Linked DNA regions of Homo sapiens: regions 2, 3, 4, 5, 6 and 7 are each linked to region 1. The links are contacts of gene promoters, found by promoter capture Hi-C in blood cells and fetal thymus (Javierre and others, 2016). All regions are on one chromosome and are shown on one strand. The core of a region is centred on a gene start or on the middle of the fragment in contact, and the rest is flanking DNA. Distances in the headings are between cores, read along the strand shown.

The links. Contacts are between HindIII fragments. The CHiCAGO score rates a contact against its expected background, and 5 or more counts as called.
Region 2: a contact is called between the fragment with the promoter of LINC01431 here and the fragment with the promoter of THBD in region 1, in 9 of 17 cell types (monocytes, M0 macrophages, M2 macrophages and 6 more). The highest score is 35.4, in monocytes.
Region 3: a fragment that was not itself captured here is called in contact with the fragment with the promoter of THBD in region 1 in 3 of 17 cell types (neutrophils, M0 macrophages and megakaryocytes); the score reaches 6.3 in neutrophils.
Region 4: a fragment that was not itself captured here is called in contact with the fragment with the promoter of THBD in region 1 in 9 of 17 cell types (M0 macrophages, M2 macrophages, M1 macrophages and 6 more); the score reaches 25.8 in M0 macrophages.
Region 5: a contact is called between a fragment that was not itself captured here and the fragment with the promoter of THBD in region 1, in 8 of 17 cell types (monocytes, neutrophils, M0 macrophages and 5 more). The highest score is 13.9, in monocytes.
Region 6: a contact is called between a fragment that was not itself captured here and the fragment with the promoter of THBD in region 1, in 3 of 17 cell types (megakaryocytes, neutrophils and endothelial precursors). The highest score is 6.7, in megakaryocytes.
Region 7: a contact is called between a fragment that was not itself captured here and the fragment with the promoter of THBD in region 1, in 4 of 17 cell types (megakaryocytes, neutrophils, M1 macrophages and 1 more). The highest score is 10.1, in megakaryocytes.

Annotation. Positions count from the first base shown.
Region 1 is chr20:23,048,322-23,051,010 of GRCh38, forward strand. THBD (thrombomodulin) reads right to left here and starts at 1,351. Exons shown (of 1, transcript NM_000361.3): 1 at 1-1,351. The coding sequence starts at 1,183. The HindIII fragment of the contact is 6,749 bases long and covers 1-2,689 here.
Region 2 is chr20:23,356,784-23,359,472 of GRCh38, forward strand. It overlaps LINC01431 (long intergenic non-protein coding RNA 1431), which reads right to left and starts at 1,344. Exons shown (of 3, transcript NR_109884.1): 1 at 1,172-1,344; 2 at 268-354; 3 at 1-186. RefSeq lists enhancers at 770-859, 1,050-1,439 and a silencer at 1,490-1,679. The HindIII fragment of the contact is 4,137 bases long and covers 328-2,689 here.
Region 3 is chr20:22,755,843-22,758,531 of GRCh38, forward strand. No RefSeq gene overlaps it. Among named protein-coding and RNA genes, the nearest start is that of LINC01747, 72 kb to the left of the region's middle. The HindIII fragment of the contact is 3,832 bases long and covers 1-2,689 here.
Region 4 is chr20:23,340,107-23,342,795 of GRCh38, forward strand. The region is part of intron 1 of NXT1-AS1 (NXT1 antisense RNA 1); the gene reads right to left. Among named protein-coding and RNA genes, the nearest start is that of NXT1, 9.3 kb to the right of the region's middle. RefSeq lists a silencer at 518-567. The HindIII fragment of the contact is 6,381 bases long and covers 1-2,689 here.
Region 5 is chr20:23,319,494-23,322,182 of GRCh38, forward strand. The region is part of intron 1 of NXT1-AS1 (NXT1 antisense RNA 1); the gene reads right to left. LOC105372571 (a long non-coding RNA gene) reads right to left here. Exons shown (of 3, transcript XR_937379.3): 3 at 1,460-1,716. Among named protein-coding and RNA genes, the nearest start is that of NXT1, 30 kb to the right of the region's middle. The HindIII fragment of the contact is 8,680 bases long and covers 1-2,689 here.
Region 6 is chr20:22,773,311-22,775,999 of GRCh38, forward strand. It overlaps LOC105372567 (a long non-coding RNA gene), which reads left to right. Exons shown (of 3, transcript XR_937350.3): 2 at 222-326; 3 at 430-906. Among named protein-coding and RNA genes, the nearest start is that of LINC01747, 89 kb to the left of the region's middle. The HindIII fragment of the contact is 2,816 bases long and covers 1-2,689 here.
Region 7 is chr20:22,790,877-22,793,565 of GRCh38, forward strand. No RefSeq gene overlaps it. Among named protein-coding and RNA genes, the nearest start is that of LINC01747, 110 kb to the left of the region's middle. The HindIII fragment of the contact is 3,169 bases long and covers 1-2,689 here.

The DNA of each region.
Region 1 (2,689 bases), core at 101-2,600:
CGAAGCCCTCGGCGCAGACGCAGAGGTAGCTAGTTTGGTTCAGGGGCTGGCACTGGTACTCGCAGTTGGCTCTGAAGCACGGGTCCACGGGCTCCACACACTCGCCGTCCACCAGGTCGTAGTTAGGGTAGCAGTGGCACTCGAAGCCACCCTGTGTGTTGACACAGCGCTGCGGACACGGACTGGGCTCCAGTATGCAGTCATCCACGTCCTCGCACCGGTGTTGGTCGGCCGCCAGCCGGTAGCCGGTCTCGCACATGCACGAGTAGGAGCCCGGCTGGTCGGGGTTGGGAACGCAGAAGTGCTCGCAGAGGTCGTTGCAGGACTGCGTCGCGGATGCGGTGCAGGAGCGCCCGTCTGCCTGCAGGGCGGCGCCGGCTGGGCACTGGCAGCGGGGAGCCCCAGGGATCGCATTGCACGCGTGCTCGCAGCCGCCGTTCTCCACGCTGCAGTCCCAAGCGCCCGGCGCCTCCCTGGCCCAGTGCCCCTGGACCGCTCCGGGCGGCGCGGTGCACATTAGCTGTAAGCCGAGGGGAGCCACCGCGGCGGAGCTGCCCACCGGCAGCGCCTGGAAGTCCGCTCCGCGGGCCGCGAACGGGGTGCCGTAGGTGATCGAGACGGCGGCAGCCGCGGCGCCGGGCTCCACAGCCAGTGGCCTGCAGGTGGCTGGGAAGTGGAACTCGCAGAGGAAGCCATCGGCCTTCACTTCGCACTGCTGCTCCTCCCAGATCGGCTCGCTGGGCACAGTGGCCTCAGCAGCGGAGACAGCGACGCACAACGGGCCGCAGAGGGGAGCCCCATTGAGGTCGAGCCGTGCCCACCTGCTATAGCTGGTGTTGTTGTCTCCCGTAACCCACTGGAAGCCGCGCAGGGGCCCGAGGCGCTTGGGGTCGCCGCAGCCGGGTGGCAGCTGCAGGCCGATCCAGAGGCGCCGGCGGCCAACGCCGCCGTCGCCGTTCAGTAGCAAGGAAATGACATCGGCAGCCACCGAGGAGCGCACTGTCATTAGGTGGCCCCGCAGTCCGTCGCAGATCTGACTGGCATTGAGGAAGGTCGCGGGGCCCGGGTAGAGCGCGAAGCAGTCGTGCTCGACGCACTGGCTGCCACCCGGCTGCGGCTCTGCGGGTGCGGGGAACCCCAGGCCGGCCAGGGCCAGCGCGCCAAGGACCAGGACCCCAAGCATGTTACCCAGGCGCGCCGCGTGCAGGCGCCGGGGAAAGCGCGGGCACTGCGACAGGGCCGTGCCGGAGCAGAGGGGCACAGGACGCCGATGGCGACAGCCTCTCCTGTCCGTCCCAGCCCAGACACTTCTTGCCGCTGCGCGCAGCCCCTGCGAGGCAGCCTCTGACATGCGGATCGGCCAGGGCTCGAGTTTATAAGTGCCCGGCCCTCCCTCCCTGGACGTTCGGGAAAAGGAAGGAAGTGCCTGGTGGGAAGGGCTGATGCCGCATACTCGGATTGCTGGGTTCTCTGGCCGCCCTTGCGCCCGCCCTCGCGCATGGGATCACCTCGCCGGGATGAGTAAACCCTGCCCTGGCGCAGGGAGGTTCTCGGGCGGGGCCGACAGGGGCAGGCGCCAGGGAAGGCCAGCACCCCTGTAACAAGACGACTGTCCCCGCCCACCACTCGGGCCCCCACGCGTGCAGCCCTCTTTCATCTCTTGGTCCTCCTTTCTTTCTTTTCATACATGTTACAGCCACTTCCAAGGAAAGCCTGGATTGCAAGAGCTCTGGGAACCGGAGACTTCAGAGAAGAGGGCTTTGAATGGGGAGTGGGGGAGGTGGTGCACAGGACCTGCAAGACGCTGGGAGGGGTGATCGGCACCAAGGGCACTTTGGGAGGACCTGCCTAGGACGTGGACTTCCCCGAAGACAGGATCGCAAGGAGAGACAGCTGGATCCTGTCCGCGGCCAAGGTGCCTGGCTCAGGAAACCAGCGGAGCGCGCTTGGCCTCACAGGACAGTGGGTGTGGCTGGGGTGACGGGGCAGGGTGGGGAAGACTGGCCTAACACCAGCGCCCTCTGCCCCATGGCTGGCCAGGGACCCGCGAGTCCCTGGACACGCACTGGCCAACGCCAGACCCCATCTCATCGGGTGGGGAAGTCGCGGGGACACTGTCAGGGCGCCGAAGTCCGGACCCGGCTCAGAGGCGGTGGCAGGTGAATTGCTGCGGCGCCGGGTAGGGGCGGGCGCGTGGGAGCGAGTCAGCCTGGCCAGTTTCGGCCCAGCTTCCGAAGGATGGTGCTTCTTGCACCCCAACAGAGTGGCTGGCAACCCCCCAGGGGAGCGCGCAGGATCCCAGCTGATCCCACCCGGGTCGGCTAAGGAGGTTTCCATTTCGTCCAGAGTCCGAATTGATACCCACGTGCATAGAAACGCCACTTGCTCGGCAAAGGGCACTGAAGAGCCACCGTCCTGTGGATGGGCAGGGTGGGGGGGGGGCTGGAGGAGGACATGGGAATCCGTCACTTTCGACCTCTTCCGGTGGTTCACTTACCGGGAATGCGGAAGAGTGGGTCTCCCCCTCGGGTCGCCCCCATAATGGTGAGAGGCAAACTGTTTAAAAACACCCTTGCCTCTCTCCTCTACTGTCCTCACAACGAGCGCCAGGGGGCGGCGCTGTCGAGCTCTAAACAAAGCCAAGGAAGTTGGAGAAGTTTCGGGCTAAAAAGGGTTAAGGTGTAGGAGC
Region 2 (2,689 bases), core at 94-2,593, 310 kb after region 1:
CGCTTTAACTTCCAGGTCCCGGAGTAGTGGTGACAGCAAGGTCTGTTGGTTTCTTTGGTTTAGGTTTGATGAAAGGCCACTCCAGTGGGGTAGGAGGTGGGCAGGGAGAACAGGGGCTAGGGTGGGAGGGGCAGGAGTTGGGTCCTGGGGGTGGAGGAGATGACGGGGAGAGTGGCTTGGAGAAATCTGCAAGAAGAGACATTGGAAGGCCGGGGGAGGTGAAATGGACACTGGGTGAAGCTGAGGAGTCCTAGTGAACCATGTTACCTCTGATCCAGATATTCCCAGAACAACAAGAAATCAAGCTTCTGAATGTGGTCTGTTGCAAGCTTGGAAGGTGCACACCTGTTGCTGCTAATTTGGACAATTTGGGGGAAGAGCAGAGATTTAGATGTTGCTTTGGTCGACCTTAAACACCAGCCCTGTCTCCCCTACCACTTTGCCAAATTAGGGCCCCGTCTCTCTAAAGAGCAAACAGAAAACTGCAGAAAGTTGCTTTGTCCTGTAGACAAGAGGCTGGGACTAGGTAAGAGGAGGGAGCCAGGATGCAAAACTTAAGACCAGCCTGGCCAACAAGGCGAAACCCCGTTTCTACTAAAAATAGAAAAATTAGCTGGGCGTGGTGGCAGGCGCCTGTAATCCCAGCTACTCAGGAAGCTGAGGCAGGACAATCGCTTGAACCCAGGAGGCGGAGGTTGTAGTCAGCCAAGATCGCGCCACTGCATTCCAGTCTGGGCGACAGAGCGAGACTCCGTAACAAAAAACAAACAAACAAACAAAAAATCTTAAACATCACCAACGAGCCTTGTGAGAAATGGTTTAACGTTGTGATACCTTGCCCAATTTTAAGGCAGGTAAAGGTGTGTGTTAAAACTCAACTCTTGAACTGAACCCCAGCTGCCCTTTAGGGCATGCTTAATTTGATGTGGACTGTAACCTCTTTTGCAGCATTGTAGAGATTTGGAATCTGCACATTAGGAAGAGACCCCACGAGGCGGTGGCGTTCTTTCTCGTTCGGAGCTCACACCCCTCCTGGGGAGCCCTCTCCCAACCCGGGCTCCCGGTAAGCGCGGTCGCCGCTCCTCTGAGGGCTGCTCTTCCCTCGCTTCTGAGCCGAGGCCCCCGCGACACGAACGCCACGCCCGAAGCGCTCTTGCCAGGACGTACTGACCGAGGGTAGGCTGCCCAGCCGGGTGGTAACGTTGAGGAAAGGACAGCAGCTTCGCAAAGGAGCTGGGTAAAACCACGCCCAGACCCCGCTGGCCACCAGCCCGAGACCAAGACGCAGGCGGTGGCGCCGGTTTCTCACTCAACCGCAGGTTCCAGCATCCCCGATACGGCCGACGTCATTACCCTGCGACCGCTCAGGACACTTCTGAGGACTCTTTTGACAGCTAGTAATCGCGCGGTGGCGCGACCACGTGACTCCGGCGCCCTAGCCCCGCCCTCCGTCTCCAAGGAGCCCTGGAAGGAGCTATACCAGCGGCTCCAGAAGGCGGGGAGAGGCGGGGCCGGACTCCGGGACAGCCAATGGGCGAGGAGTGCCGCCCAGCCTGACCCACCGGCCGCTCCCTCACGAGCCTGTGGGCGTGCGCCGGCTGTGCAGGTGAGGGGCAGCGAGGGCGCCTAGTGGGCAGGGCGCCGGCGTTGCGCGTGCGTCAGTGTTCTTCCTTGTGCAGTTTAGAATTTGATACATTTCTTTCCAGTCTATTTCTATAGATTTGTTTTCAAATCACATCAGACCCTATGTAAAATAGTGTACCGTCTTTACTCATTATAACATGGTGAGCATTTCCCCAAGCTATTACACATATTTTTAAACATTGTTTTAATGACCGGCATAATAATCCAGTGCTTGGATATATCAAATTCTTCGGCCATCTCCTTATAGGTGAGATTGTTTCCAAAGTTTCACTAATGTAAGTGCACTGCAGTGAACGCCCTTACGTAACAATTGTTCACTCCCGTGTACTTTTCTCGTGCAGAGTTCTACAGCATGAAACACTATATTTAACTTTGTCAGGTTGATGTTTATCAGTGGTTTATTATTGTTTTTATAGTATTCCATTGTCAGTGAAGTATGCCATTCACACTGTCAAGTGAATTGTCTATTTGTATTATTTAAAAAAAAGATCACAAACATAGAAAGGAGAGCTTTATTTCTTTAAACGGTGATAACCTGCAAGGTGGCCCTTCTGACAGGCTGGGAAGCATAGCTTCTGGCAGAAGCTCAAAAGGCAGGCAGCTGGAGGGAAGGGGGCCTAAGACAGGAATTTAAGCTGAAGGACTTAGCCAAGTACACATATGAACAGGCCACAGGAAGAGCTATGAATATTCATGAAACGGGTCCTGACCCATGCTTACTGGACAAACGTGCATGTTACAGGTGACCTATGTTTACTTTGGGGTGGACTCTTAGCATTTACAGGTATTCATGTATTACATTTAGACCCTATAAGTTGAAAGATCTTTTCAGGACACCGATGCACTTGTGTGCAGCCTCTGTAAACCGCCAGAATCAGCCCCTGTTCGGTTGTTTCCCATCAGGAAAAAGTTACTGCAGTCAGTCTCTGGTCCAATCAAAGCAGTAATTATTTGTGGAAGTGGTGGGGCTGGGGCAGGGGGCGTGTCAGTCAGCATGTGGAGGTGGATGAAAAGCACATTGTTTGAATATTGCTTATCTAGAGGC
Region 3 (2,689 bases), core at 53-2,552, 290 kb before region 1:
GTTCTCCAAAGAAGGGCAGCGAGGGAAGGAAGAGGGACAGGAAGGAGCTGAACAGGAGCAGGTTCGAGCTGCAGTCTGGCTTTACCCTGATCCCTGGGGGAGCTTTGGAACAAACTGCACCACAGTCTCACCTTGCGAGGGGCTGGCCTTTGTACCCTGAGCCAGTCACTGTTTATTGGGGGTGGGTGGATGGGCTGTAATCTCCTAAGATGCTTCCATGATCCAATGACAATTTTCCAAAATGGGGGTAGCTCGAAGCTGAGACAGCTGACTTCCCTGGCAGCTGAAGGCTGTGCACACTGGCCAATAAGGGATCTGAGTGGGGTCTGACCAGTATCAGAGTGATTTGCAGGTAAGGATTAAGCCAAGGGTAGTCATTAAAACTAATGACAATTGTTTTGGTGTAACTAACTTTATGTCATCTCCAAATAACCTAGTAATTTTTATTAATTGCAAAAGCTAAGAACTTCCTGAGTAAATTATCTCCTGCTCCATCCACTGTCACCAACAATATAGAAGTAGTTTTGACAGTATTTGTCTATCAACTTCCAATTTACTGACAGGAGAAGCATGATTAATTAAGACATCTGAATTCCATCATTAAAAAAATGAGGTTTCTTATTTTAAGAAGGCATTCAGGGCAAGAGGTGAGTTAAGACTATGTGTAGCATTAGCATTCTAAATTCTCCTTTTACATTATAAGTTTTGCACTTCTTTTGTGAAATTTATTCCAAAATATTTTATTCATTTTTATACTAGTATAAATGCAATTATTTTTTAAATTTGATTTTTGGATTGTCTATTGCAAGTTTCTAGAAATACAACTGAGTTTTATGTATTGATGGTGAAGCCTGTGCCCTTGCTGAATAGAATTGAATCTTGAAGCTAGTCATCTGAGTTCTTCTGGGCCTCTCTATCTGATGCCATAATGAGAGGCATAGGGAAAAGGTGTTGGAAGGCAGGGCAGTGGGAGGGGCAGGGGCTGCCTAATGACAATGTCCAAATGCTAAAAGAAAGTACGTACTCAGCTAGACATCACACTGGAGGTTACTTTTCTCATTGAAAGACCATCAGCATTAACTATGCCGCAAGGCATGCAGACAATGAGAAAAAACTCAGAGCCTGCTGGCCAGGGAAAGCAATGCTTTCAGAAAACAGAAAGCCAGATGATGGATACCAAAGTGCCCTGGAAGTGGAGATACCAGTGTCAGGGGTGGGGGTGGTGGAGAAATCCTCTCTGAGCTTATGGGAGGAAAGGAAAATCTCCCTAGAAATCACTAGTTGAGGACTCTGTCATTCGAGTAACTAACAGACAGAAAACTCACAGATAGTAACAAAAAGTGTTCAGAACTAGGGAAGTTAGTATTCAATTCACATCATTCTGGGCCACAAAAGTTTATGCCCATAGAGTAGAATAAGACTGGGTTTGAATGGAGGCAGTTCCACGGCTGCACTCGGATGGTGTTGGTTCCTTACTTGTTCCCCAGGAGTCCAGACATGATGAGAAGGACCCACAGTATTGTACTTGGTATTTTGTTGTTGTTTCAGGGAAGACAAGTGAGGCCATGCTGTGAAGACCACCTCAAGATTTCAGGGCTTCAAACAACAAAGGCTGTTTCTTGCTCACAATGTATGTCCACCACAGGTCAGCATGAGGTGGGGGGTTTCTGCCCATCATAAGGTACTCAAGGACCTAAGCTGATAGAGGTTTCATCTCTTAGAAGGACAGAGGCTTCATCTCAACAGATGTTTCTGCGGAGATAGGGAAGAGGCACAGTTAGTCATGTGCTAGTCCTTAAAGCTGCCAACCAGGAGAGACATGTGATGTTCTGCTCACATTTCAATCAGTAAAGGAAGCACGTGGTCTTCTCTAATGCAAAAAGGGCGTTCAAATTCTACCTCCCTATGTGCCCAGAAGGAAATCCAGAGTATTTGTGACTAGCTCCAATGACTATCAGTATCCACTCTCCTGCTCACTAAATATTTGATTCCATTTCTTTCTATATTTGTTTTCCAAACGAAACAACTTAGACATTCCATGGATATATTGAAGGTGACACAAGAGAACCAAGAATTCCAAAGGGGAGCAGTGGCCAGGGCAGACCTATTTTTTCTATGTCCTGGTTTTCACTTTGCTGCCATTCACAGGGACGATCAGGAACTCGGGTACCATTCACAGCCAGAGGAGCCACAGCCCGCAGCTGTCAATCACTTGTGGTTAAGGCCCTGCAGGGGTTTGGTCTCTAGAAATTCCCTGTAGTCGAGTTTTCAGTTTGAAAAATTGTGCAGAACATCTTCCAACTCTTCTTAAAGCCGCTAAACAAAATTAGCCCGGTCTCACGGTGCAAAGAGAGATGGGAAGCCCTGGAAGAAGAGCAATCCCGCCCATCTGTAAACCTCTGGAGTATATGGGTTTAAAGGGTTGAGCCCAGGGATCTGGGACCCACCCAGGCAACAGAGCCAGGTTGGCTCTGGGTGTGAACTGAGCTTCGCAGAGGGGGCTGGCTGCTCCTGCTTCTCGGTTCCCTCCACCTCTCTCTCTGCCCCTTGGGGGTCAGGATGGGTGGAGAAGGCCATGCCAAAGATTGAGAGCTCTGCCTTTCCCATCTCAAGTGGTCCTGGGCTCACTGCTCACATGCCAACGGACACCCGCCTCAGGCGAGAAGCTCTGATGACTCTGATATTGTTT
Region 4 (2,689 bases), core at 69-2,568, 290 kb after region 1:
GCCCACAGCTGGGAGCAGGAAGGGATACTGGGAATATTCCACCTGGGATGACACTCTGATGTCACGGGAGAAGGGGTAGGGTCGTGGGGAGGGGCAGGATCTTCTCGATGCCCCCACCCCTCGCTGGTCATAGGCACTGGCTGGCAAGAACGGGCTGCCTGGGGCCTTGCGCCGGCACCCTGAGCTGATCCCCCACATGCCATCGCGGTCATCCCATTGTACACTGTGCATTCATCGCCTCGGAACCATCCCGGGACAAAGTGCCAAAGTCAGCCATTAGACCAAAATGCTCACCAGGAAGCATTTTTGAGACAGTACCTCAGAATTTGAAATAGAACCACACTAAAAGCTGTGCTGCTTTGGAGAGGCAGAGACCTCTGCTTTCCCAAACCGTTTCTAAAATATCCTAGAGAAAAACAAAAAAGCCTCTCTGAGCAGCCACCTGTCAAGACAAAGGAGATTATCTTGGACTTTTTAAATGCCCTATGTTTGATATAGGGAAGGAACACTTTGGTTTCTTGATCAGAAAAGGTGTCACTCAGATCCTGTCTACAACGCAAGCAGAGCGGCTCTTGTCAAAGGCTAGACCACCCTCGTGTGGCTGCTTCTGTGAATGGCAATTCAGATTTGAAGAGCAAGACAGATCAGACAGCTTCAAAAGCGGGAAAACTGGCTGGGCGCAGTGGCTCATGCCTGTAATCCCAACATTTTGGGAGGCCGAAGCGGGCAGATCACCTGAGGTCAGGAGTTTGAGATCAGCCTGGCCAACACGGCGAAACCCCATCTCCACTAAAAATAGAAAAATTAGCTGGGCAAGGTGGCACATGCCTGTAGTCTCAGCTACTCGGGAGGCTCAGGCACAAGAATTGCTTGAACCCAGGAGGTGGAGGTTGCAGTGAGCTGAGATCACGCCACTGCACTGCAACCTGGCAACAGAGCGAGACTCCGTCTCAAAAAAAAAAAAAAAAAAAGGAAAACTAAGCTCAACAGTCAAGGCTGAACTAATTGCAGAAGAGTGTAAAATAATAATTTACTTCATTAAAAAAGCTGCAGAGCACTTTTCAACCCAGGCTACTTTTATTCTCTAGTCAAGAGCAGTTGTTTTCAAAGTGTGGTCCCGGCTTTCCAGTATGACTAGAAATTGGTTAGAAATGCAAATTCTGGCCTCCCTTGGCCCTGCTATGTCTGAAACTTTGAAGCTAAGGCTCTGGCACCCTAGTGTTAGCAAGGATTCTGACGCTCCCTCACTTTGAGAACTGTAGTTTGCATTAGATTTGTTACTGTCTGGCACCAAAAGAGAGCTGTTAGCCAAGGCATTGACCCTTCAAGGGACCAGGAAAACCCATCTAGACATTCTTCAGGTGTTTCAACAGTGAGAGAAAGTCCTTTCTTTGCTCCCTAGCTTAGACAGAGTCCCCAGCAGCAGCCCCTGAGACAACAATTGCACTGCAAGCCACTTATTTGAGAGGTGATCCCAGGGGCACCTGTTGGGGTATGGGGATGTGAGGTAGGGCAGGGGGAAGCCAGTACAGGGGCAGCACTGCAGGTGCCTGGCTCAGTCCCTGGGGAGCTCCGGGATGATGCGGGGTGTGCCTCAGAGATGTCCTGCCTGAGGGACTGGAAGGGTTGGAACCCTCCAATTCCCATCTGTCCTTACTGAAGGATGCTCTTGGGTGTTAACTCTGGGCATTCCTGCCCTGCCATGAGTAAGGTCCAAGACTGTGGCCAGAAAACCCTGGTCTGGAAAGGAGTGAAGAGGGTATCTCACTGTCTGCTCCACTCAGCTTTCCCAGGCTGCAGGGGGAGACAAAAAGTGCTTGCCGCTCACTTCTGAGCTCTCAAGACTCTTTGATTCCTTATTCAAAGCCCACTCATCAATCAAGGCCTCTCTCAAGTCCCATCTTTGCCAAGCACCTCAGCATCTCCCACTTGGGAGCAGCCTCTCTCCGCACACAGACCAGCCCTCAGATCCATGCATCACTAAAACGTCTCTGCTGATGCTGGGCAAACCAGGGCCTCGCCCTGGGCCCACACGGCCTGGCCGAACACTGGGGAGAGAGCGAGAAATGAATGCCACAAAAGGGGCACAGGAATGTTCAGAGGGGGGAACACCACAGACCTTTCCACAAAGTGGGATGGCTGTAAAGAGAAGGTGGCATCTGAGCCAGTCCCTGAAGGATAGCGGAAATGTGTGCAGAAATGGGGGCAAGGTACACAAGGCAGAGAGGGCAGCCTAAGGACTGCGGCAAGCAGCATGGATTCCGCGTGGCCGAAACATGGCACGGGGGAGAATGGTGGGAACCCAGCTCATGTCTTATTATGGAGGGCCTCGGGTCTGGGACCCTAGTCTAGGATATGGGGAGCTCACAAGTAGGGATACTGCAGAGTGAGAGTTGTGCCCCAGGCAAGTCCCTTTGAGGAGCATGTGTGTTTCAGGACCAGAAAAGTCAGTGACCCGTTAAGAGAGGAAGAGAAGATGGGAGTGGAGTTGGGGTAATTGTGCCACAAGAGCTGCACCCACTACTCAGGCATTCTTCAGGTATCCACATGCCAACATCAGGGAGCAGGTACCCTGATTTTACAGGCTCAGAGGGTTAGATCATTCACAGGAGGTCACGCAGGTCTATCTGACTCCAAGTTCGCATGCTCTTTCTGCTCTATCCACCAGGATTGTTCAAATGGCCCCAGA
Region 5 (2,689 bases), core at 115-2,614, 270 kb after region 1:
CACACTTGGGATACTCAGTAAATGTTTGTTGGGTTATTGATCTATTTATGGAAACACTTGTAAATAACTAAGGACTGATGATCCTGAAAGCAAAATATAGTCTTCCTCCCACTTCTCCTGAACTTGAAGAATCTCACAGAATTCTGTATTTATACCAGCAGCATATGATATGATTTGAATCCTGTTATTTCATGAGATGTTTAAACCAGACTTTCTCAATCTCAGCATGATTAACATTCGGGGCTGGGTAATTCTTTATTGTGTGGTATTGTCCTGTGCATTGAAGTATTTTCTAAGTAATGCCCCTGACATCTACTCACTCAATGCCAGCAGCACCCCCAGTCCCAGTGTGACCAGCTGTCTCCAGACACTGTCAAATGTCCTCTGGGAGCAAAATGTCCCGCCTTGAGAACCACTGATTTAGAGCAATGACCCAGAAGAACTAAATATTTATTCAAGAAAAGAACTCTGAATTATTTTGACTCAGATCTGCAAGAACATTTTTATCTATTTTTTTTTTTTTTTGAAACAGGGTCTCACTCTATCACCCAGACTGGAGTGCAGTGGCATCATCTCTGCTCACCACAACCTCCCCACTCCCAGGCTGAAGCAATTCTCCTGCCTAAGCCTCCTGAGTAGCTGGGATTAGAGTTGCATGCCACTACCACTTGGCTAATTTTTGTATTTTTAGTAGAACGAGTTTCACCATGTTGGCCAGGCTGGTCTTGAACTCCTGACCTCAAATAATCCACCCGCCTCAGCCTCCCAAAGTGCTGGGATTACAGGCCTGAGCCACCATGCCCGGCCTGCAAGACCCTTTTTCAATAAAAATTGGCCAGCTGGAAACAAGATCCCAGACTCCACAGTGATCTGGTCCAAGCATCCTGGTTCTCCACGGTTGTTGTGTCTTCCTCCCCATAAAAGCCAGGAGCCCCTCTCACGCTGCTTATTTGTTCCGGCATTCATCTAGCTGAGCACCTGTTGCACATCAGGCATTGCTCTGAGTAATGCGGATAAAGCTGCACACAAGACGGAGGCTAGCCCAGCCTCAAAGAACTTTCCCTCTAGTGGAGAGGAAGGGGACGGCACACAAGGAAATGAATATACAACTTCAGTGGGAAGTCCACGTGAAATGGAAGAGTTCCCTGAACCTCCTCACATGACACGCAATAGGGGTGTGGCTCATCTGTTTGGCCACCTCACCTGTGCAAACCCCTTACAGGAAGGGGAGCATGCAGACAAGCAGGTGCAGGAGCCAGGGCAAGCACCTTGGGGCTCCAGCCCCATGGTAGCTTCTAGGGGTGGGTGCCTGCAACTCCCAAAGCCCAAGTAGGCATGTGTTACCATGCATTCTTTTAGCTGTGCTGCCTGCAGATAGCTTAAGTGTTAACCAGCTCAGTGCCCTCATGGTACCTAGGTCCTTGTCCGGCATCCAGGAAGAATCAGGTCACACACAGACTTGAGGATGGTGAATGCAGGGTTTTATTGAGTGGTGGAGGTGGCTCTCAGCGGGATGGATGGGGAGCTGGAAAGGGGATGGAGTGGGAAGATGATCTTCCCCTGGAGCTTGGCTGTCCTGCAGTCTATCTCCTCTCTGACCTCCCCCAGCTGAATTTCTCTTGGCGTTCAGATGGTCCCTTTCTTCTCTCTGCCATGCCATTCTGCTGTTCTTCTGTTCTTCTGCTCGTTCCCTCGTCTGCTTCTGAAGCCTAGGGTCTGGGGTTTGTACAAGTACAGGATAGGGGGGCACAGCAGGCCAAAAGGCAACTTTTGGGCTTGAAAACAGGAAGGGCTGTTCCCATTTAGGGCCACGGGTTTCCAGGCTTGAGGGTGGGATCTTTGCTGGGGAACCGCCCACTTCTCAGTATTTCCCTGTCTCCTGTCCTTATCACGTGTAGAGAAAAAAGGCACTCAGCTAGAGAGGGATGGGGAAGGTGTGAGCTGTTTTAGGTAGGAGGGTCAGGGAAGGTCTCTCAGATGAGGTGACATTTGAGCAGAAACTAGGATGAAAAGAGAAAGCCAGCCCTGTCAGCGTCCACTGCAAGAACAGCTAACCTCTAACCCTCAGCCCTGGGAAAGGCGCAAACACAGCTTGCTCTGAGAACAGCAAACAGGGCACTGGAGCTGAATTGGTGTGAACAAGGGTACAAGGGGGAGAAGATGAGGTGGGGAGATGGAAGGTGCATGCCATGCAGGGACTTGGCTTTGATTCGATTTTGGCTTATAGTCAGAGTGAGCGGGAAGCCAAAGGAGGGTTTGAGCTGGGGGGGACTGACAAGTTTCTAAAGAACCACTGTGGTTGCTATGTTGGAAATAAAAAATGAGGGGGTTGGGTAAGGGCAGGGGCAGGAAACTATATCAGAGATGTAGCTAATTAGGATCAGCTGCATGGGGCCAAAATTCCCAAATAACAATGACTTCAGTAACACAGTTGCTTCTCTCTCTAATGTAAACCAAGTATAGAGATAGGCCGATTGAGGCTGGTAATGGAGACCTTAAATTTTCTTCCAGCCTGCTTCCCCGCCATCCAACATTGCTGCCTCACAGTCCCAGAGGGTGGTTCAGTCCCAGCCAGCACGCCTGCATTCCAGCAAGCTGCTGTAAGGAAAGGTCAAAGAAGAACCCATTCTGTCCTTTTAAGTGTATTTCCTAGAAGTCGTATAGGACACTTCTGTTTATTTCCTATTGG
Region 6 (2,689 bases), core at 90-2,589, 280 kb before region 1:
TCTAAGAATAGAGATATGAATGTCTGCACTAGGAAAGGATGAAGGCTCTTCATTAAGAGGTGGCAAAGTCAACGTTTGAATGGTTTTAGCCTAGTCTTCTCCTTATGAGGATCAGAAAACTCAAAGCCAGCACTGAGGGAATGGTTTGATCTCCTTTCTTGAAGGAAGATTGCAGAAGGGCTTGGAAAAGTGAATGATTAACTTGACCACATTTCTCCTAGGGCCGGGAAGTGAGTGCACTCAAAGCAGGATTTCCTGGCAACTGCTCCAGTAATGTCTTACTGAGAATGGAGAAATCTGGAGGATAAGAGGAAAGAGGAAAAATGGTAAATTACAGACTGTTTCAACAGCAAAACAAAGGACTCTAGAGAAAATCGGGAAACTCCAGTCCTTTGGGGAGGGTAGAAACAATGCACTATTGTTTTCTAGAAGTCTTCATGGAAGATATTTTATCCATGGAACTGCACACTGTGGAAGCCTTGCAGAACCCGTGTCACATCTTAGGGACACACGTCCCAGCCTGCTGGAAATCTGAAGAACCCAGTATGGGGGAGAGGAAGCAGTGTGCAGACCATCTAGTGACATCCATTAATTCATGGAGGAGGGAATTGAGGTCCACAGTCTGCTTCTACACCCCAAAGGAAAAGGGGAGTGTTTTACAACTTATTTGAAATGTGAAGGACTGGCCTGGCACTTAGTGTACTCTTGGTTAATGACATGTGGATTGTTTTAATGATGCCCAAACACTCTTGTAAAGTGGAAAATATAGGCAGCCTGGGGTGCACATCAGGGTCAGCATCAGGGAATATAAGCTCATTAGTAGGTTAACACATACCTCCTTTTCCTGCTGAAAACCATGGCTGGCCTCCAACCAGAAACGCCCCTTCATACTTTTGAAGCAGGTCTTTAGTCTCCCTACACATCTTGCCTTATGTGATCACATTCCTTCCCTCCTGCAGCTGCCCTGGATTGAGAGAAATATAGGAGGCCAGGGAAGAGATTGGGTCTCTTCCCTCTGATCCTGCAGGCTGATGTCCTTCTCCTCCGAGCCACTGCCTTCCTGGGGGCTGCCTCTTGTGTCATCTAAACAGGCAGACATTTCCAGGTTTTGAACCCATCATTCATTCCAGGCCCACTGAGCACAGACTGCATACAGAACAGTGGGGCCTTGCACCTGAGGAGAAAGTGCACCTGCAATTCTGGAAACACGCTGTGGAGGCACAAAACCTCTCTGGGGGCACAAGACTAAGTGGAGGCCTCTGAGAATGGGGCATGGGAGTGAACCATAAGAAGAGAGGGAGGAGTGTGTGAACCAGAGTTCCAGGACTGAAGTCCCCAGGAAGAGCAGGTGGGAAAATCTGGAAGGGAATTTTCATTCCCTTGCGAACTAAAGAGATGGAGTAAAGAGGCCAGTAATAGATTTGGGACTGGACCACAGGGGGCCTCTGGGACCATGGTGAGGACTGGAGCTTTCATGGAGCAGAGGGAGGCCGGTGAGGGTTTATGCAGAGGGGAGGCTTAACTTAGCTTACACCCAGTCTGAAAAGTTCATTTCGGTTGTTGTATATAGAACAATGGAGAGGGGAGTGGGCACAGGGAGGCTAATTAGGGAGCAGCTTCAGTAGCAGGAGGTGGTGCTGGGTTGCTCTAGGATGGAGACATCAGCAGAAGGGACCCGGGCCTGTGTGAGACACCTGTTGAAGGAAGGATCCACCGGGCTTGCTGCTGGACTTATGTGGGGCTGAGGGAGAAGGGGGACCTGCCAGCCCAGCTTGGGGTGGGAGCAACTGGGTAAATATGGTAAACAGGAAACATCAAGAAATAAGATACTGGGTTGGGGAAAGTTACGGTGAGCTCAGCTTTGTACTTGAATTTTAAGTGTCCAGAAGACAAGCAGTAGGGTTTGCTACTTGACTTCAGTGCACTGAAACTTGTTTGCTTTGCACACAAAAGTGGAGGCATTGATACCTCTCCCACAGGGCCATTTTGGATTGAGGAGCTAATCTGCACCAAGTTTTCAGAAGTGGTAAGCAGTATGGCAGTGTGAGATAGAATATCCATTGGAAGAGGAATGTATCAGTTAGCAGGCAGAAATGCTGCTTCCCAAAGAGCAGGGTCAGTGGGGTCATTGTGGAAAGCGGCTGCTAGCTTGAGCAAGCAGCCCACACTCCCCAACAACACATGCATTCCACACTCAATTCTGCATGTGTGTCTATGTGTGTCTGCATTACTGTGAGAGTGTCACATGTGTGTGTGTGTGTGCCTGTGTGTTTGTGTATTTGTGTGCATGCTTATGTGTTCAATTCATAGGAGCTATGAAGAAATAAGAAACAAATGGGAGGGAAGTTTCTAAAATGAAAGCTAAAGAGATAATCCCAGGCTTTGGTGAACATGTTTGAAATTCTTTGCTCTTCTGACCCACGTCAGCAGGGTGACTGGGCAGGAGAAGGTAATACTTCAAAGAGGAAGAGTTTCCTTGTGGACATCCAAGAAACACTGACCAAAGCACTATGGGAATAAAGGAAAATGATAAATGGATAGAAAGTCCTGAAAGGCACACAGAGATGTAGAGATGTGCACTTTTCCAAGTGGAGAGGAATGCCGATTGCATAAATACCTGATAAGATAGTTCCTGGACAGTCTCATCCTGTTCCAGAACATAGGGCAACTCATGAATTCCAAAGAAGCC
Region 7 (2,689 bases), core at 98-2,597, 260 kb before region 1:
GGACTCAACTGTAGAAGAAACCAAATGAGTTGCTTTTGAAAATTATCATTTCTGGTAGACTCATAGCCTCTCATAGCTGAACGAAAATTTTGCTCCTTGGCCATTTGGTCCAACCTCGTCATTTAAGATAAGGACAACTGAGATGCCAAGGAGTCATCACTCTTTCATGGCTGTAGATCTAATAAGTAGCTGAGGAAGAGCTGGACCCAGCCTTTCTGACCTCATACTTCCTTACCAAGGAGCATTAGAAAACCCTACTTATTCCTGCTTGTGAGGTAAGAGTTATTTCTAAATGCAAATATTTGTTTTCTTGCTTTTATTCACATAGTGAAGAAAATTGAATCCATGGTGACCTTATTGAATCCACACAGAACCTTATTATACATTGATTCATAAGGTGTTATTGTATCATAGCTATAGACAGCTGTGGAGATTAGGGTAAGTCTACACTGTCTTGAGAACATGTCTTAGAATTTAAGTTTTCTCCAAATACGTAGTATTGATTCGGCTTTACCTTTTGCTAAGAAAATGAATGTTGGTAACTTCTCACATAGTAATAATAATTCCATTTCCAAGAACATCTCCTAAGAACATAAATATAGATGTGCAGGAGATATATGCGAGGGTCAGAAATGCTGAGGAGCAGGGCATGACTCACTGCACTAGCTCATGCCGACAGGCCAAGAAGGTGACAACAGGGCCCTGGCTGTGGATTTAGTAGCATGGATGTCATCAGCAAAAGACTAATTTGTCTCCAGTGTCTAAAACAGTGCCTGGAGCTCCAGAAGTAGGACATGATTGATTGAGTGGCAGGGGCATCTCAAGTTGACTCGAATATCCTTTGTTTGAGCATACTCAAGAGAAAATGGGAAGATAAAGTGAGATTTCTTTTAAAGGACAGCAAGGAAATGAGGTGGCACTTGTAGGGGAATATAGGGCTAAGACAGGGTTTTCTCAAGATAAGAGAAATCACCAGATGTTTGCATGATGTTGGGAGTGATCCAGTAGAAAGAAAAAAGTAAAAATATTCTACCAATAACCATAACAAATGACCAAACATATTGTTGCTAAGGCAATGATATCTTGACTGATGCAGGGAAAAAAGTAACCTCAACAGGTCAAGTCCCAAGTGTGAGCCTGTCACCAGCATGCAGTGGGAAGTACAGTTTCTGGAACTCTGAGCCTAATTCTGCCTCCAAGTTGTTGTTGGTGGTGGATGAGTCATTTTGCATTGTCATCTCCCTTTCCTTACCTGTGCAAAGAAGGGTTGAAATCAGACTCCCCCACTCGCACACCTCATGATAACTTCCTGAGGGCTGCCACAGGCCGTCAGCTTCTCTCTCTTTGTGTGCAAGCCAGACCCTTAGTAATGCAAGTCCCTCATCCTACTCTAACTGCATGAGCCAAGCTCAGATCCCCTGCAGGAAAAGAATTCAAGGCCTTCTTTGCTCAGACAGGAGACAGATTCTTGGAAGTAGTAACGTCTTACCCAACATCTTGAGGAAGTTTTCATAAAAGCCTGGGATCAACATCATATGAAACATAGCCATCAAGTTTTGAGCCCTAAAGAGAATTCAGAATAGAGTGAGGTCAAGTGAATGTCTAACTGCTGAGTGAAGGATCATGGGAGATTTCAAAGGGCTCTTGTTTTGGAGTTTTCAGGACTTTCCCCAAGAAATTTTCATGGTTGATGTGTGCTCCAGTAAGAACAGGAGAATATGAAATCCGGGGATGAGGGACAGGGGTGGGGAGTCTAAGAGGCTAATTATCCTCTGTGTAGAATGAAACCCCATGAAAAAGGAGCACTCCTGTTACACATTTTATTGTTAGTTAGCATTCTATATGTTACTAAATAATTTTGCTTTACTACTTTATTTATAGCTACATAATCTTGAACAAGTCACTTATCCTCTTTGAGAATAATTTTACCTCTAAAATGGGCATACTATGACTATTTTGCAGGATTGTAGAGTAAATGAAAATTTGAGTCTTTCAATAAACATTTATCATCCTAAGTGCTGTTTTTATTCATACAAAATGGAAATTATTAGTTGTAGTGAAACCATAAGTATTGGCTGAGAACCAGGCACAAAAGGAACCAAATGGAAGCCCCGCATTCAGGTTGAATCTAGGAAGCAATGCCGGCTGCAGGTGCAGAATTCATCAGCAGAACATGGCTCTCAGGACATCTTTGTAAAGGTCTCTTGTCTTCTGGTGTGAGGCAGGCCATGTGTTCCTCCAGGCATTAAGGTCAGAATCACTGATAACAGTTTGGATGTCTCCATCAAACCTTATTTTGAATTGTAATCCCCAGTGTTGGAGGTGGGGTCTGGTGGGAGCTAATTGGATCATGGGGGCAGATTTCTCACGGATGGTTTAACACCATCCTCTTGGTGCTGTCCTTGTGGTAGTGAGTGAGTTCTTGTGACGTCTGTTTGTTTAAAAGTGTATGGCACCTCCCCACTGGCTCTCTTGCTCCTGCTCTCACCATGTGATACATATGCTTCCACTTTGCCTTCACCATGATTGTAAGTTTCCTAAGGCCTCACCAGAAGCCAAGCAGATACTGGCACCATGCTTTCTGTACAGCCTGCCGAACGGTGTGCCAATTAAATCTCTTTTCTTTATAAATTACCAGTTTCGGATATTTCTTTACAGCAACGCAAGAACAGCCTAACACAATCACCAC